2 separate regions of the Homo sapiens genome follow, and region 2 is linked to region 1. The links are contacts of gene promoters, found by promoter capture Hi-C in human tissues and cell types (Jung and others, 2019). All regions are on one chromosome and are shown on one strand. The core of a region is centred on a gene start or on the middle of the fragment in contact, and the rest is flanking DNA. Distances in the headings are between cores, read along the strand shown.

Region 1 (5,972 bases), core at 243-2,742:
TGAACCTGGGACTCTTAAGCCAAGCTGTCTCCTGCCAGGCCATTTGGGGGCTCAGGGTTGGGGGCAGTGAGGCAGCTGAGTCTGGGGGCAGCGGAGCAGAGGCTGGGTCAGCCTTCCTCCCCAGTGCAGGCTGTCTAGGAACAAACGCCTTCAACGTGTTGGGGGCGCCCTTCTTACCACATTTGGGGCAGGGGGTTAGCTGATGGTGCCCTGGGTGTGTGCCTGGGGCGGGAGGTGGCAGGACATCTGCCCCACAGGCTGGCTCTCCACGCTGCCCTCTTGGTCTTCTCTCCAGCTTCCCTGCTCTTCCTCCCTCAGCCCCCCGACTCCCCTTCACCAGGCCCTGGGGGTTTCCCGCAGGAATCTCTCCCTGGTCTCACCGACTCCTCCAGATGGCCCCTGCGAAGCCGATGGCGGTGCCCAGGTGCAGGTCACCTGGCGGGCCCGCTGCAAACGCTGCTCCCCGGGGTCTCATTCCAGTCGAACCCCGGGAATCTGCATTCTAACAAGCGCTGCCGGTGGCCTTGGGCTCCCCGAAGCCTCAGACGGCTGCCAAGGTCCAGCCGCTGGCGCCCAGCAGGAGCGCAGGAGACCGGAGCCCGAGGCGCCTTCTTCCTCCCCTCGCCCGTGTCTGCGCAGCGCTCCCTCCTCCCTCTGCTCACCGACCCCCTCCCTGCCCCGCCTCGCGGCACCCCCTTTCCCGGGGCCCCGGGCGCCCGCAGGAGCCACACCCCCAGTTCTATGGGGGTCTCTCCCCTCGGAGGGGGCGGGCGGTCCGGGGTGAGTCTGGGGGCGGGTCTAGTGTGTCACTTTAAACTCCTCCCCCGGAGACCCCGGCCCAGGCAAGAGCCCACAGCCCTTTGCCGAGTGGGGCTGAAGGAGGGGCCGCTTTGCACTCGCAGGGATTTCGGGGGGACTAAAGGGCCTTACGAGGACCTGCGGGAGGAGGGAAGGGACGAGGACGCTGGGGGGTGCAGCCCGCCCGGGAGGGGTGCTGGGAGGCCCCGGGCCCGTCTGCTCCCCCGGGGAGGGAGGCGCGGGGGTCGAAGCCTCGCTTGGCGGCTCAAGTGCGGGGGAGGCCGTCGCCAGCGCCCGGATACCCTCCCCGTCCGCTCCGCAGTGCGGACCCCACCGCCGCACCCTCTCCTGCGCGTTCGGAGGGGAAATGCCCCCGAGACCCCGCCCCTCCAAGCATGCGCGGCCTCAGTTTCCCCAGGGCCGAGGGGACGTCGAGACCTTCCCACCGCCCCCCGCCTCGGAGGCCACCCCCGTGCCTCCTGGGGGACCCGGACCAAGGGGGCGGCGGCCGTCGGTCCGTCCGGGTTGGGGCGCGGGGCCGAGCCCAGACGGCGGCCCAACAGCACTGGCCGCAGCCCGCGGCACTTACCGTGGGCCGGCGCGGGGATGGGGGGGCTCCTGGGGCGCTGCGCTCGGCACCAGCTCGGGGACGCCGAGGCACAGCTACCGCTCCCAGCCGCGCGCGCCGACGACTGAGCAACTGCTGGGCGGACGCCGCTGCGGGGGCGGGGTCTGACTGGGGGCGGGGCCGGGCCTGACCGGGGCGGGGCCTGACCGCGCTCGCCCCGCCCCCCGCGTCCACGGCGCCTTAGGGGACCCGGCCGGGGTCTCCGTGCCTTGAGCCGGGCCGGAGCCCCCTCCCCCGGGATGCGGGGCTGTGAGTCAACCCACAGGTGGCTGCGGGACGGGGAGCGGGCTTGGCTGCCTCGGGACCCCGCCTGGCCGCGCGCGCCCTCCCCGTGGCGCGTGGGGTCTAGAAGGGGGTGGTCGGCGGGGTCTCCTCCGCGGACCCCAGGGAAGCCACGGTCACGAAGACCAGCAGCGGTGCAGACCTTTCTGGAAGGGCCTGACTCAGGGACACCTCGCGGGCCCCGCCGCTCTCTTCTCGGGGCGGGGATGCGTCCTGCAGGGATCCACTCGGGACGCCCCACGCCCACGCGGACGGTCTGTGGGGCGATCGTCCCTGGGGCTCTGGTGAGGGCCCAGTTGGCGCTTGTGGGGTCACAGCCGGCCAGAGCCCCCGGAGCCCCTGGGGTCTGCACTGGACCCCGCCAGCCCCTCCCGGGTGGCTCCCCGCTCTTCCTCCGCTGCGCTGTCCTGGAACCCCAGCGGGCCCGCGGTCTCCTGCAGGGTTTGTTAAGGCATTGATGGGTCCTGTCCCCAACCCGCTGGTCCCGAAGTCTGGGTGGGGGCGCGATCTGCGTTTTTTCCCTTTTTTTTTCAGACAGAGTCTCGAAAAAGCTCTCAAAAATAGCTCTCAACCAGGTTGGAGCGCAGTGGCACCATCTCCACTCGCTGCAACCTCGAACTCTCCGGCTCAAGTGGTCCTCCCGCTTCAGCCTCCCCAGTAGCTGGGACCACCCGCCGGCTAATGTTTTTTGGTTTCTTTTGTGGAGATGGGGGTCTCCCTATGTTGCCCAGGCTGGTCTCAAACTCCCAGGCTCAAGGGATCCCCCTTCCCCGGCCTCCTAAGGCGCTGAGATCACAGGTGTGGTCCCCACGCCAGCCAGCGCCTGCACTTCCCAGCTCCAGTCTGCTGCCGCCAGTCCAGGGACCACACTTTGAGAAGTCCGTGCTAAGCATGGTCCTGTCGGGGGCCTGAGGCTCTCAGACTTGCCGAGGGCGCAGCGGCCCCCCGGTCGCACCTGCCCTTGGTCGAATACAGCTGGACACTCGCAGCCCTTTGGGGACAAGGGGTGGGGGGTGGTCAGACTTTGGAGTTTTCACCCGAAGGGCACCTGGGCAGCCCAAGGCCAGACAGGCTTCCAGAACACAGCTCTTCAAAGGGAGGGGGCCCGTCTGCCAACAACTGTCTTGGCTTCTGGATCCCAACTCACTCAAATCCATGCCCGCCCCACACCTGTCTGTGCAGGATCGGGGGCAGGACCCCTGGGTGGGCTCTCCTTCGGGACGCTCGGCCCAGGCTCTGCCGGATCCTGACCCAGCACAGCCAGGCCGGTGGGGGAGGGCAGGGAGCTTGCAGGAAATGCAGGGACTGGCTGGGACAGGGACGCGGTGGGGGAAGCAGGGGAGGGGGCCTGGGCCCTCAGCCCCACTCTGTAGCAGTGTTCTCCTGAGGGGCTGGTGGGTCTGGAGACCGGGTCTGGGAGTGACGCCCCTGCCTCTGCGGTCTTGCACCAGGTTCTGCCCACCTGTTGGAACAAACACAGGCCGGTTGCCATGGTGATCACACTGGCTTTAAGTGAAGGGACAGGCTCTGCAGCTACGGTAAACAGGAAGTTGGGAGGGGCAGCCGCTGCTCCGGCCCCTACGAGAGCACCAACCCTGAAACCAACACTGCAGTCCGTTGGGTGCGGGAGCACCCTTGGAGACCTCTCCCCACTCTTTTCTAGGTAGGGAGACTGGAGTCCGGAGACGGGAAAGGGCTTTTCCAGGGCCACATAGTGATAGGTTGAGTCCCAAACCAGCCCTGGGCCTCCGTTTCCCCAGGAGAGGACGGTCACTAGGACTGTCCCCTCCACAAACATTTGGTGAGGAGTCGAGGAATGAACGATCCGAGCGACACCCCACTCAGTGACCAAGGCCTTCATTCTCCAACTTGTTCTGAGGCTGAAGACAGGCTGACCTGGATCAAAGTCCCAGCACCCTGCTCACCCCTGCCCCAGGGCGACCCTCCACTGCCCGGGCCTCAGTTTCCCTCTTCTGTAAAATGGGGACAACAGCAGCACCCACCTTGGGTGCAGCTGGGGGACCTCAGTGAGCCAGTCTCAACTCACAGCAGGTCAGCCTCAGTCCCAGTTGGTGGGGATGGGAACTGCAGCCACCCAGCCAGAACTCCGGCCCCTCCAGTGACCCAATTTACCTTTCCATAGCTTGGGGCTGGAAGCCCATCCTCGCGTGAGTCCCCTCCCACTAAGAGAGAGGGCAGGAGAGTGGGCCGCCCACCCTCCCCACCCTGAGCCCCAGGCCTCACTCTGAAGGGGCTACCCTGGCGTCTCTGCCTTCGGACCGGAGTGCAGACAGCTGCCGTGCTCCGGGGACAGTGAGGGGATGGCGCAGGTGCAGGAACACCTCCCACCGATGTGTCGGGACACGAGACCCCCTGCCCAGACGGGGTCAGAGCTTGAGGAGGCTGCTGGGGCACCAGGGCTGCTTGTGCAAAGCTGAGAAAAGCCATTTTTCAAGCCTGGCTCTTTTCACATTCTCAGGACTTTGTGCTGGAAAGGGTCTGGCAGGCAGGGAGAGTAGCTTTTCCTCCTTAGGGCCGGGCCGGTGGCGGGGGGCGGAGATGGGGGGGCAGGTAAAAACACCAGGCTCTGGATACGCAGGCGCCAAAGCCGCTGAAGCACACAGGTGAGGCCATGGCAGAGTTAGACAGCCCCTCCTGTTCCACGCTCATGAGCACAGCGCAGGGCCCAGTGCTACCACCCTCTGGTGGCAGCCCTAGAAATTGCAGGCACAGCCTCCCAGAATCTGCCCCCAACTTCCCTCTGAGGACCCAAGCAAGGAAGGGCAGGGTCCTTGGAGAGCTCGTGGGGTCAGAGCCCAGGGACTCTGGCCAGGGACCCTGCCTGCCCCGGAGCTGGAGGACCCTGAAGACTGCCAGAACCTGTTCCTTGCCCCATCAAGAGAGGGGCTCTGGGTGGGAGGGCCTCAGCCCAAGTCTGGCCTCATGCCTGAGATGCTGGTCTCCAGATCCCACACCAGAAGCTCCGGGAGTCCTGCTGCCACGCGTGCACAGGTGGGGCCGGCTGGAGGTGACCACCCAGTGTCACGCTGGAGTTCTCTCAGGCCTCCGTGCTAGTAGCAGCATCTGTGAGGGGTCCAGGGCAGGGCAGGGACAAAGAAGTGGGCCCAAGACAGGGTCCTACCAAGCCCCCAAACAAAGGCCATTGGTGTGCCAGAGCCCTGCAGGCAGGACAGCCCCTGCTGCGGTGAGGCTTGGATGGCAGGGAGGATGGCACCCTGTCCCCTGGCCCCGCCTCCCACCAGCCTGAGGGTGGGGGTGTCAGAGGCCCCTTCCCAGCGAGATGGGCTTCTGTGCTCACTGTGGTTAGGGGCCCAGCAGGGAGAGGCCAGGCCCTCAGTGTGCATCCTTCTGTGCAGAGCTGGGGTTGGGAGGCGACTCCTCCCAGCTCTGGGGGCTTCAGAGTCCCTCCTTTTCTTTTTTTTTTTTGAGATGGAGTCTTGCCCTGTTGCCCAGGCTGGAGAGCAGTGGTGTGATTTCGGCTGTAACCTCTGCCTCCTGGGTTCAAGTGATTCTCCTGCCTCAGCCTCCCGAGTAGCTGGGACTACAGGCGCCCGCCACCATGCCCAGCTGATTTTTGTATTTTTTTGTTTTTTTTTTTCAACTGGTAATCAATTTATTAAAATAGTTGACTTAAGCATCTGCAATGGTGACTTCCACTTCAACTCCTGGCTCAATACTGATGGAAGTAATCTGCTTAACAATCTCAGAAGGACTGTGCAAGTCAATGAGTTGCTTATGGATGCTCATCTGGAGTTTTTTTTTTTATAAGTTTTTTTTTGAGATGGAGTCTTGCTCCGTCGCCCAGACTGGACTGCAGTGGCGCGGTATTGGCTCACTGCAAGCTCTGCCTCCCAGGTTCACGCCATTCTCCTGCTTCAGCCTCCCAAGTAGCTGGGACTACAGGCACCTGCCACCATGCCCAGCTAATTTGTTTGTATTTTTAGTCGAGATGGGGTTTCACTGTTAGCCAGGATGGTCTCAATCTCCTGACCTCGTGATCTGCCCGCCTCGGCCTCCCAAAGTGCTGGGATTACCGGCGTGAGCTGTAACCTGGCCTCATCTGGAGTTTTTCTTGTAGTGATTCTCAAAGTGTTGGTAGGATTCAAACCGGTCCTTTCACTTTGAGATTCTTTTCCTTTGTGCCTCTGATCAAGTCAGCACACACCTTTTCAAGTGATTTTATGCTGTAGCTCGTTAGAGTGATTCAGATTTGGTGAATTTTGGTGAATTTGGTGAATTTGGC
Region 2 (5,794 bases), core at 2,458-4,957, 300 kb before region 1:
AAGTGCAGGAGGGCAGGGCCTCCCACACACAAATGCCACACTAGATTGCAGCAGCCACCCCGCAGGACACAGCAAGGCATGGAGGGGCAGCAAGGGGACAGAGTGTGGTGCAGGCCTGGCACAGACAGGGCGACTGCTCCGTATCTGTCCTCTCAGCCCCACCACCCGCCCTGAGCTGTGACATGCTAGCTGGCGTGGTCGTGCAGTATCCCACTGAAGAGGGGGGGATCCCCTACAGTGCCCACTGGACAGCCCAGGCATGCTCTCTTCTTATGAAGTCAGGCAGAAGAAGCAGGGCTGAGGGGCGCTGGGCACAAGCGCCTGGTAAGTCTACAATGTCCCTACCTAGAGGTCGTGTCAAAAATGTCTCAAGGGAATCTGGTCCCGAGGAGACGATCGGAACAAATCCAAGCAAGGGCCTGCGTGAGGAAGGCCTGAGCGCGTTGCAATGTCTCAGAAGCCCAGGCAGTGCGGCCGCTCTAAGTCAAAGACACCCAAGGGAGACTCCACAGTCACATGCAGGGCAACGGCCCTTGACAGAAGCCCTGACTGATATTTTGGGATGTTTTAGAAAATCTGAATATGGGCAGGAAATTAGGTAAGATCACTACACCTGTTTGGTAAATGCTAAAAGTCTAGGTGCGACCATGGTATCAAGGCTATATAGGAGAAATGTTCTCTGAGGTGATGCCGGTGGAGGTATTCTGGGCTGTGGCGTGACATCTTACAGTCGAGTGGAATGCAGAGTGTGTGAACACATGTGTGCACGCGAGCATGTGTGCATGTGCATGGAGAAAGAGAGCAAATGTAGCCAACGTCAGCAACAGGTCCATCTAAGCTAAAGAGCACGGCCGCCATCATATTCTTCACCTCTTCTAGTAAAATTTTTTCAAGATAAAAGTTAGAGGGAAACTAGAAACAACTCTGAGCACTAAAGCCCAAAGGTGACAAAGGACAGGAGGAGCCGTGGGCAACCCCACAGTCAGCGTACTCACAGCCCCCAATCTTCTTGCGCAGCTCGCCATAGCAGATCAGGCCATACAGTTCCTGGGATGACTTCTTCAGGCCTCGAGAGAACACTGAGAAACAGAAGAGAAGGCGGCTTTAGAGAGGGGAACAGGAGGCGCTGCCTGGCTTGGGTGTGAGAGCCACACCAGGCTCACGTGGTTTCTTGGATCTCCTCCCTGTACCTTTGTCATGCAAGCTGTCAACCACAGGGGACACTGGGCAGAGTGTATAGAACACGGTGCTGTGTCTGCGATTTTCAAAATAAAAAGTTAAACCAAAGTGGGGCGTTAGAAATTTACCCCAATAGGCAGAGGAAATGTCCCCTGGAGGAGAAAACACAACACTCAGAACAGCTGGTACTCGTGAAGGTGGCAGATGTGGCCAGCACTAAACCTGTCATCCATCTCTGCACACAGGTGAGGCCAGCAGCCCTGAAACCTGGATGCTGCCTTCCTGCCTCACCTGTGCCCTCCCAGGACAGTGGATCTGCATAGCCCGGGCCCAGGCGGGAGGAGGAGCCAAGGACAGGTGCTCACCCCTGCCTGAGGCCCATTCTCCTTCCTCAGTAAGAGGCCCTGTTTTTTTTTTTTTTCTTTTCTTGGAGACAGGGTCTCACTCTCTCGCCCAGACTGGAGTGCAGTGGCATGATCTCGGCTCACCGCAACCTCTGCCTCCCAGGCTCAAGAGATTCTCCTGCCTCAGCCTCCCAAGTAGCTGAGATTACAGGTGCACACCATTATGGCCTGGCTAATTTTTGTATTTTTAGTAGAGACAGGGTTTCACCATGTGGGCCAGGCTGGTCTCGAACTCCTGACCTCAAATGATCTACCTGTCTCAACCTCCCAAAGTGCTGGGATTACAGGCATGAGCCACCGTGCCCAGCCAAGGCCCCTGTTTTATTTGGGAGGCAAACAGGCTGAGACATGGACAGCTGGTCATGGCTACACCACTGGAAGTAGTGGAGACTTCCAGAAGCCTCCTTAAAGAGCCTGATTTGGGCAGGAGGGTTCCCCTTTTCCCACCCCTCTTTCCTCAAGAGCCACTGCCTGGAGCTGTCACCAAGGACAGCCAAGCACAAGAATGGGAGGCACCTGGGTCCTGCCTGCCCTGGGCGCCAGCCTCTAGGCGTCTCTGCCACGAGACAGTGAATTCTGAGGCGCTTGGGCCACTGCTATTTTGCATTTTGTTACTGTATTACACCAGACCTAATCCTGCTAGGGAAACCAAGTGACAACACAGTCCAGGCCCCTTTGGGTCACTTCACAGAGCAGGGGTGAAGGCCATTTGTCCCCTCTACTCTCACAATTGTCCTCTCTAGTTCTCTCCTCAGAGACCTGTTCTCAAGGCCCTAAGACTGGTAAATGGAGAAGCAGGCTTTCAAGATATGAGGAGGATTCTGGACCATGGGTCTCGGACACGGCTAAGCACAGGCCAACTGCTCTCAAAGGCTCTTCTGAGAGAAAGACCTAAGACCTAAGGGCTCATCAGACTTTCTTTTTTTCTTTCTTTCTTTTTTTTTTTTTGAGACAGAGTTTCGCTCTTGTTGCCCAGGCTGGAGTGCGGTGACGCGATCTCAGCTCACTGCAACCTCCGCCTCCCAGGTTCAAGGGATTCTCCTGCCTCAGCCTCCCAAGTAGCTGGGATTACAGGCATGCGCCACCACGCCCTGCTAATGTTTGTATTTTTAGTAGAGACGGGGTTTCACCACGTTAGTCAGGCTGGTCTCAAACTCTTGACCTCAGGTGATCCGCCCACCTCGGCCTCCCAAAATGTTGGGATTACAGGCGTGAGCCACCACGCCTGGCCTCATCAGACTTTCTTAAAGGAGCCCATGACTCGGAAAGCTTTAAGATCCACTATTCAGTAGACAAGCAAAATGTGGCCATCCACCCAAAGGAAAATAATCCAGCCATACAAAGGACTGGCACACGCTACAACACAGACAAACCCTGAAACCTGACGCTGAGTGAAGGAAACCAGGCACAGAAGGACACATAGCACGTGATCCCATTTCTATGAAACATCCAGAGTAGAACGATCCATAGAGACAGGAGGTAGTAAACTGAGGGCTCCCAGCACCGGGGCACAGGGTTTCCTCCTGGGCAATGGACATATTCTGCAACTAGAGAGTGGCAATGGCTGCATAACCTTGTAAGTACATTAAGAACCACTAAGTTGTATGCTTTAAAAGGGTGAATAATATCCCCATTTCTAAAATATATATTTTAAAGTCCACTATTTGAAATGGCAAAAAGAAAAAAACCCACAACCCAGAAACAAGAAAGTAGCACCAAGAGCAAGACACTGCAGACAAGGGACCCCAGGGGAGGTGGGACCCTGGGACGAAGCAGGGCTTCCGGGAGGTGTCCCTGATGCCCCGCCTGGCCCCACGGCCTCCTAGGTGGCACCTCATGTTTTATTACACACTCAGGGACAGGAACCAAGCTCACCTCATCCAACTTTGAGTTCGTGAAGCAAAATCTCCACTGAGCAATGGACAGCAGCAAGGAAACGCAGATGTGCATGGAAACCACGGGAGATTAGTAAGACGAACACACACGCAAGGCCCCCAAGCTGGGGGCGGAGTCAGTCCCTTCCACGCTCGCTTGCCACCACTCTGTGTCTCACGCCACAAGATGAGTCAGACAAACCCATGATAAAGTGCACACGGTGTGCTCTTCAAAACTCCAAAGCACAGGCCAGGCGTGGTGGCTCACGCCTGTAATCCTTGCACTTTGGGAGGCCGAGGCAGGTGGATTTCCTGAGCTCAGGAGTTCAAGACCAGCTTGGCAACATAGTGAAACCTCATCTCTCCTAAAAAATATAAAATTAGCTGGGTGTGGTGGTGCACACCTGTAATCCCAGCTACTCGGGAGGCTGAGGCATGAGAATCGCTTGAAACTGGGAGATGGAGGTTACAGTGAGCTGAGAGTGCGCCATGGCACTCTAGCCTGGGCAACAGAGCAAGACTCTGGCTCAAAAAACAAAACAAAACAAAACTCCAAAGCACGCCAAAAATACATGTAACGTGAAAAAGTTGCCACTCTGTTTGATGCGCAATGACAGTCCATGGGGCCAGTCACTTCGCAGTGTCCTAGTGGCCTCCAGCCTCATGCTCCTGTTGGGCAAGTCAGCATCGGGTGCCCCAATGCCGCTGCCCGCTGGCACGGAGGCAGACAGCCCTGCTGAAGAGACAGTCAGGGCCATCAGAGAACCCGGGAGAACACGGGAGAACGGTGAGCTCAACAGGAAGAAGGCACATCATGTGGGGTCACACCAAAGATGCACGAACAGGAGACACCAAGGCTGTAGGAGCCTGCTGTGCCAGGTCAGGAAGAGAGGGAAGCACAGGGGCCCACACGGAGAAGGGAAAAGGACCTGTGTTGGGTGTGACCCCCCACCGAGAGGTGTGAGGGAGCATTTACCCTTCACCCTAGATGGACAGAAGGGCCAAAGAGGAATGAGGCCTCCTCGCACCAGCAAGTTTAGGATTAGGAGGTTGTTTAACAGGGAAAGGTGACACAATTAGAAAAGAAATGTTTGCTTTGACTGCCTTCTGAAATTGACATGGGAGAGAGCCTGGGTTGGCAAGTAGAATGTGCATTTGAACCTCAGAAGAGGAGATAAGTCTACGCCAGGAGCCTGAGGGTCCAAAGACGCTTCCCACCCTGCCCGCAGATGGTTCAAGCAAAGCACACTAGACCGAAGCTCCTGGAATCCCATCCCTCTCTCTATACCTCATCTACTAAACAGCTGCCCAGTCCCCTCCGCTGCTGGCCAGCTTCCCCCATAGAGAGCTTTTCAAGACCAGCCACAGTGGATGGCAGATCTGCTCTCATGGACTGACTTTCTTTCTTTTTTTTTTTTTGAGACGGAGTCTTGCTCTGTGGCCAAGCTGGAGTGCAGTGGTGCAATTCTCCTGCCTCAGCCTCCCGAGTAGCTGGGAGTACAGGTGTGCACCACCATGCCCAGCTAATTTTTGTATTTTTAGTAGAGATGCGGTTTCACCATGTTGGCCAGGATGGTCTTGATCTCTTGACCTCGTGATCCGCCCGCCTCTGCCTCCCAAAGTGCTGATTACAGGCATGAGCCACCGCGCGCAGCCTGGACTGTCTTTCAAAAAGGCACTAATGAACGATGCAAAGGACAGACGACACAGGAAGAGGCCGACAATGAAAAGTCGGTGCTGCGTGCCACTCTGGAAGGCACAAGGCCACTCACCACAACCTGACATTAACCACAACAGCCTTGGATGACGGGATCTGACCAGTGCTGAGATTTCAAATAAACAAGTGAGCTGAACATGAGAAGACCAGCACAGGCATCAAATATAGGACAAAACGGAACTGATGTGCTATAAATAGGTGAAGTCAGCAGAAAATCTTACATGAATGGTCACGTGGATACCAAAAGCAAACAAACAAAACCGCATCGGCGGCAGACCCGAATCAAGGGGTACCCCTAATGTGCAGAGACCAACAGCCGTTTCCATGGATCTCCAGAAACGGTGACAATCTCCCAGTGGAGGTTCTTCAGTGGAGAAGCTAGCTGCGTGGTGGGCAGGGGGTGTCTGCGGCCCTCAGGGCTCTGCCCAGTCACACAGGGGAGCTGGGTCCTGGCTCTTCCCAAAGCTCCGGGCAAAGCTGATGCACCATGGTCAAGATGCCATAACCCACCCAGAGGACACCACAGGAATGGCCAAGGCGAAGGACTTTAGGTCACCACGAGGCACAGGCAAGGGCACAAAGAGTGGCAGTGTGGCCACAGTCCAGGTACCCTGGGTCAG

The links. The method cuts DNA at HindIII sites, captures the fragments that hold promoters and counts their contacts. A contact is called where the count stands out against the background at its distance.
Region 2: a contact is called between a fragment that was not itself captured here and the fragment with the promoter of BAIAP3 in region 1, in 1 of the 25 tissues and cell types used here (dorsolateral prefrontal cortex).

What each region holds. Positions count from the first base shown.
Region 1 is chr16:1,329,165-1,335,136 of GRCh38, reverse strand. BAIAP3 (BAI1 associated protein 3) reads right to left here and starts at 1,492. Exons shown (of 34, transcript NM_001199097.2): 1 at 1,388-1,492. It also overlaps the pseudogene RPS20P2. RefSeq lists silencers at 1,443-1,602, 2,338-2,538 and an enhancer at 3,315-3,364. The HindIII fragment of the contact is 17,320 bases long and covers 133-5,972 here.
Region 2 is chr16:1,633,109-1,638,902 of GRCh38, reverse strand. It overlaps CRAMP1 (cramped chromatin regulator 1), which reads right to left. Exons shown (of 21, transcript NM_020825.4): 5 at 996-1,079. Among named protein-coding and RNA genes, the nearest start is that of CRAMP1, 24 kb to the right of the region's middle. The HindIII fragment of the contact is 4,859 bases long and covers 1,278-5,794 here.